Regions from separate parts of the Homo sapiens genome. Here region 2 is linked to region 1. Evidence: promoter capture Hi-C in human tissues and cell types (Jung and others, 2019). All regions are on one chromosome and are shown on one strand. The core of a region is centred on a gene start or on the middle of the fragment in contact, and the rest is flanking DNA. Distances in the headings are between cores, read along the strand shown.

Region 1 (2,920 bases), core at 111-2,610:
AATGGTTTCTCAGCAGCTGAACACATAGTGTCTTGAGAAAAAGGTGCTTGCTTATAACTTACACCAGGGTGTTCAATTTTTTGGCTTCCCTGGGCCACACTGGAAGAACTGTCTTGGGTCACACATATAATACACTAACACTAATGATATATGATGAGCTAAAAAAAAAATAATAAATCGCAAAAAAATTCATGTTTTAAATTTGCAAATTTGCGTTGGGCCGCGAGTTGGACAACCTTGTCTTACACAAAGCAGCATATGGGCCAGTGGCAACCTGCTTAAAGGGTTATGAAGGTCTAGTTCCTGACAACAAACTTCACGGCCCATACAAAGTTATTCATTTTACTTTCGACCACTTACCCCATGAACTACACCCAATGGGATACTAACCTGAAGCATGGCAGCTACTACTGGATTAGCCCTAAATAGGCTTAACCCTAAATAATCAGTGACCACTGTCCAGGTCAGAGGCTAACCTTGGGCTGCAGACGCAATGAAACCCCTATAGCAAGCAGAGGCTGGTCTACGACGTGGGAGGGAGAGGCAGAGATACACCTTAGCAGACGCCAGGATGCAAGTTTAGGAGTTCTCAGCGTCAGGAAAACATCCAGAACGTCTCTGTCAGTATCCTCTTATGCCTACAGTATCCCAAACTCCCAATTTTCCTGGTAGTGGGGCAGACTGGTCATCTGGTCACAACACCCGTTAATTACGGAGTAAAGGGATGGGCAAGAGGCTTCTCACCTTAAGAGTCACGTGGAGAGAAATGCTCAGGCACAAGGGACTTAAAATGAGAGGTAGAGGGTGGATGTAGGAGGTGTAGTTCTTCCCCGAGAGCGAACTAGCCCAACCGGAGAAAAGGTTTTAGGTCCCTGGTAAGGGAAGAGGCCTCAGTCCCCGACGTCTCTTACCACCTACACTGGACGAGGGTTTGGCGTGATTAGAGGCGAAACACTCTCTGCCACCCCAGCTGACCGCAGCGCCGCCCGCGGCCCGGGGCCCCGGCGGGACAGACCGGCGAGGGTGCGGCGGCGCCCTGCGCCCACCCCCGCCCCACCCCAAGAGCCCCGCGGGCCCCGCAGCGCCCCTCCTCCGCCCAGCGGCGCCCCGCCCGCCCGCCCGCAGCAGCAGCACCAACAGCGCCCCGGGCTCGACCTCGCTGCCGAAGGCCAGCTTGGCGGAGGCGGCGGCCAGGGCCCCGAACGCGCCGGCGCACAGACAGTTGAATACGCCCCAAAAGCGGCGCCGCATCGCACCCGCCTGGAGGTGCGGAGGGAATTCCGCGGGGGTGTCAGGGTACGCGGTCGCGGACACGGCGCCGCCCGGAGGCCCCGGCCTCTCGGCCATGTTGCCTGCTGACACCGTGCCTGGCACCCGCTGCCCGCAGGGCAGAGCGCGCGCCGCGATTGGATGGCAGCCTCACGTGACGCGACGCTCCTGTGACGCCACGCTCCGGCAGGCCCCTTGGGAATCGCTCTCCGGCGCCTCGGAGGGGGCGGGCCAGGTGGCAGAGACCCTGGGCTGTGGCGGCCTCCGGCCTAACCTGTAGTAGGTTTGTGCTCTGGGGAGGACGTCGGGACCCGAGGCCTGAGGCCAAGCCGGGTACTGTGGACGCTGTGGTAGAAGGTAAACTTCTCGCGGCTTAGCCGTCTCCATCCCGGCCACCCGGCTCCCGGTGAAACTTATTAAAGATGCCTAACGGGCCCCGCGCCGGCCCACCGAGTCCATCCACGTCGACCAGGCTTCTCCGCTCCACCCTCCAGCCTGAGGACCGCCGGACCAAGAGATGCCTCGGCAGAGGGCGCTGGGGACCTCCAGACCCAGAAAGACGCCAGAGCCCCATATGGGGACAAGCGCATCACAGAAAACCGAAAAAATGAGGATCTGCGATGAGAGGAAGACAATGATCCATAATCAAGCCACGCAGAATCAACATGACTTCTAATCTCCTGTTATACTTACGTATGTTTAGAATGTTTCCGGCTGGGCGTGGTGGCTCATGCCTGTAATCCCAGCACTTTGGGAGGCCGAGGCGGGTGGATCACCTGAGGTCGGGAGTTCGAGACCAGCCTGACCAACATAGAGAAACCCCGTCTCTACTAAAAATACAAAATTAGCCGGGCGTGGTGGTGCATGCCTGTAATCCCAGCTACTCGGGAGGCCGAGGCAGGAGAAGCGCTTGAACCTGGGAGGTGAAGGTTGTGGTGAGCTGAGATCATGCCATTGCACTCCAGCCTGGCCAACAAGAGTGAACTCCGTCTCAAAAAATAAAAATAAAAATAAAATGTTCCCATTTAAAAAGTACACGTCCTTGAAAATAAAGTGTTGAAATGTATAAAGTGCTATTTCCACTCTCCAGGAAAATCAGTGTTAATAGAGCATTTTTCTATATGTCTATTTAGTTATATATAGTTAAAATGTTAAAAAAATTATAGAATATGTATATGCATTTTTTAAACAAAAATGATTTCACAGTTGAACATACTGTTTAGCAGCATTCTTTTTGTATCTTCTGTTTAGCAAGTTTTTATGGAAGTCCTTCCACACCATGCTGCTTCTCTCACAGGGTGGTTTTGTGGCTCAAATAAAAGCACGGATAAGGCCAGGCACGGTGGCTCACGCCTGTAATCCCAGCACTTTGGGAGGCCAAAGGTGGGTGGATTACGAGGTCAGGAGTTCAAGACCAGATTGGTCAAGATGGTGAAACTCCATCTCTACTAAAAATACAAAAAAAATTAGCTGGGTGTGGTGGCGGGCACCTGTATTCCCAGCTACTTGGGAAGCTGAGGCAGAGAATTGTTTGAACCCAGGAGGCAGAGGTTGCAGTGAGCCGAAATTGCACCACTGCCCTCCAGCCTGGGTGACAGAGTAAGGCTCTGTCTCAAAAAAAAACACGGATAATTTCAGTAACGCCAATATG
Region 2 (2,983 bases), core at 283-2,782, 400 kb after region 1:
TATAAGGGTTTTACATAATTTCATAACATATACTAATAACACATTTACACAAATGTAGACCAAAGAAAGCCAAACACCATTTCATATTTGACAATGCTTCCTGTATGATTTTTGCACCAAATAAGCCAAATGTCATTTTTGGACTTTAGAGGACCTAATATCTAAAATATTAGGTTAGAAAGAGACATAATTTATAATTTGATTTTGGAAAGTTTGTCAAGTAGCAAAGGTTTAAAACACTGGATATCACAAAATAGAATCCCAGGTCACCATAAATCATTCTTTGGCCAAAATGATAACTCCAAAAAAAATTTTTTTTAAAAAAGAAAAACCTTTACTCTGATAGAGGAGACTTAGCTTTCCAAAGAAGACCCAGTGAAGATAGCTTGAGGCCAACTGAATCTCTCTTCTCTCCATTTTTTCCCTGCCATTTACCCAAAGGAGAAAACAAGACCCTTTTATTATCTTTTAACATTAATTAAAAATCATCTTCAAAAGAGAAAACCAAATTTCATGTTTGCATTAATGCATCTTTAATGTTAAAGCTAGTTTGTTTGTTTGTTTGTTTTGTTTTTTGGTTTTTTTTTGAGACGAAGTCTTACTCTGTAGCCCAGTCTGGAGTGCCATGGCATGATCTCGACTCACTGCAACCTCCGCCTCCCAGGTTCAAGCGATTTGCTTGCCTCAGCCTCCAGAGTAGTTGGGATTACAGGCGCGTGCCATTGCACCCGGCTAATTTTTTGTATTTTTAGTAGAGATGGGGTTTCACCATGTTGGCCAGGCTGGCCTTGAACTACCAACCTCAGGTAATCCTCCTGCCTCAGCCTCCCAAAGTGCTAGGATTACAGGTGTGAGCCACCACTCCCAGCCTAAAGCTAGTTTTTTAAATAAAAGTTTATATCTCTATCCAGTAGTTAGTTTAACCATAAGGTAAGATTTTCATAAACTTTTTAGACCCCTTTACAATTTTCCATCAAACAGCAGATCAGTTTTCTAAGAAAACCCTGTTATTCGGACACTTGGGCCCAGATTTTGGCCCCACATCAGTATCATTTTAATTTTTTAACCTGTGGAAAACTAAATAATTTCTTTTAAATCTTAGCCAACTTGTTTACACCCACATAATTTTTACAAGATCAACCCTTTACAAACCCTTTTGACTTTGCTTAAACCTTCAGTTTTGTTCCATTCCTCTTTTAGGTTAAGACAATCCTTAAAACCTTCTGAAATAGACAAAATTACATTCCCTTTAACAAAAGCCATATTCCCATGCCTTCTTATAATCTTTTAACAAAAACACATTTCCTACACACCTTGTATGTAAAACTATTTCTCCAGTGGTCTCAATTAAATGTTACAATGTTAGCTCTTAGCAAATTTTATTTTTAGTGAAAAACCTGATAAGTAAGCGATTTTTTTTTTTTTTTTTTTTTTTAGGCGGAGTCTCACTCTGTCGCCCAGGCTGGAATGCAGTGGTGTGATCTTGGCTCACTGCAACCTCCGCCTGCCGGGTTCAAGCAATTCTGCTGCCTCAGCCTACCGAGTAGCTGGGACTACAGGCGCATGCCACCATGCTCAGCTAATTTTTAGTAAGAGACGGGGTTTCACCATGCTGGCCAGGCTGGTCTGGAACTCCTGACATCGTGATCTGCCCACCTCGGCCTCCCAAAGTGCTGGTATTACAGCCGTGAGCCACTGTGCCCAGCTTGGGGTGGAGCCTAGGATATCAGACAGAAATGATGATAAGGTCTGACTCTTTTTAGCATAGCCAACGGGCATGGCTCTCCATATGTCCCAAGGCCTTATCTGTAATCTAATGCTCCAAAATAGGTAAATTGAACAATTCTCAGAAGTCAAAGAAACAATTTGACCTTAAAGCATTTGGCAAATCTGATATCTTAATTTAGACCAAATGTTTCCATTTTCAAGACATTTTATTTTATCAGTCTTTAAAACTGTCTTCTAAAAGAATACTAAAGCCACGTGAACGAAAAGGCATTAAAAGTTTCTATTTTTCTGACAAAATATTTGATTTAAACGTTTACTTTCCTAAGCCAATCAGAGCTCTTTTGTATATAAACATACAACATATAGAAATACACAGAAGATTCAGCCCTTGTAAGATTTTTCATTTGCCAGTTTCTTTATTGGATTACTGGCTTCAGAATTGAGCCCTTGGAGGAACAGGGCCAGGAAAGCATGTATTTCTAGGGCCACATAAGCAGCAAATAAGCAGCTGAAGGCAAAGACAGATCCCCAAAATTAAGGGTGCCTTTTTATACTGGATCCTGGATCCCCAAAATAAGGGAAATACTACAGGAGAAGACAGTGCAGTGCTGCTGCTGCTGTTTTTTTTGTTTGTTTGTTTGTTTTTTGAGATGGAGTCTCACTGCGACATCCAAGCTGCAGTGCAATGGTACGATGTCAGCTCACTGCAACCTCCACTTCCCAGGTTCAAGCGATTGTCCTGCCTAAGCCTTCCAAGTAGCTGCGACTACAGGCACGCACCACTACGCCTGGCTAATTTCTGCATTTTAGTAGAGACGAGGTTTCACCGTATTGGCCAGGCTGGTCTTGAACTCCTGACCTCAAGTGATCGCCCACCTCAGCCTCCCAAAGTGCTGGGCTTACAGGCATGAGCTACCATGACCAGTCGACAGTGCAGTGCTTCTACGCTGCATTTCATTGCAAGGCAACCCAAACCCAATTATCCCATTTTGTAATCAGCCCATCTCTTGTGGGAGTCTCATCTCCCAGTTCTGGGTGGGGATGTTTCCTTATCTTCCAGGTGGCCAAGAGCATGCTTTTCTGATCCAAGTGTGCAGAGTCAAGTATCCCTCCATAACTACTCTTAGCCATCCCTTAAAGTATATTTCCTACTTAGTTATTACACACCAAAGCTCTCTCATAATGCGAAGTAATTTCTGATACCCCAAAACTCAAAACCATCAGATAACACAACGCAAAACAGAACAGAGCGTTT

Evidence for each region. The method cuts DNA at HindIII sites, captures the fragments that hold promoters and counts their contacts. A contact is called where the count stands out against the background at its distance.
Region 2: a contact is called between a fragment that was not itself captured here and the fragment with the promoter of TMEM42 in region 1, in 1 of the 25 tissues and cell types used here (dorsolateral prefrontal cortex).

The regions. Positions count from the first base shown.
Region 1 is chr3:44,860,352-44,863,271 of GRCh38, reverse strand. TMEM42 (transmembrane protein 42) reads right to left here and starts at 1,360. Exons shown (of 3, transcript NM_144638.3): 1 at 1,156-1,360. The coding sequence starts at 1,347. It overlaps MIR564 (microRNA 564), which reads right to left and starts at 1,384; the gene lies at 1,291-1,384. It also overlaps a transcript of KIF15 not described here. RefSeq lists silencers at 851-900, 1,231-1,280 and an enhancer at 1,311-1,900. The HindIII fragment of the contact is 28,079 bases long and covers 1-2,920 here.
Region 2 is chr3:44,463,518-44,466,500 of GRCh38, reverse strand. All of the region lies in intron 1 of ZNF445 (zinc finger protein 445), which reads left to right. Among named protein-coding and RNA genes, the nearest start is that of ZNF445, 13 kb to the left of the region's middle. The HindIII fragment of the contact is 4,634 bases long and covers 1-2,983 here.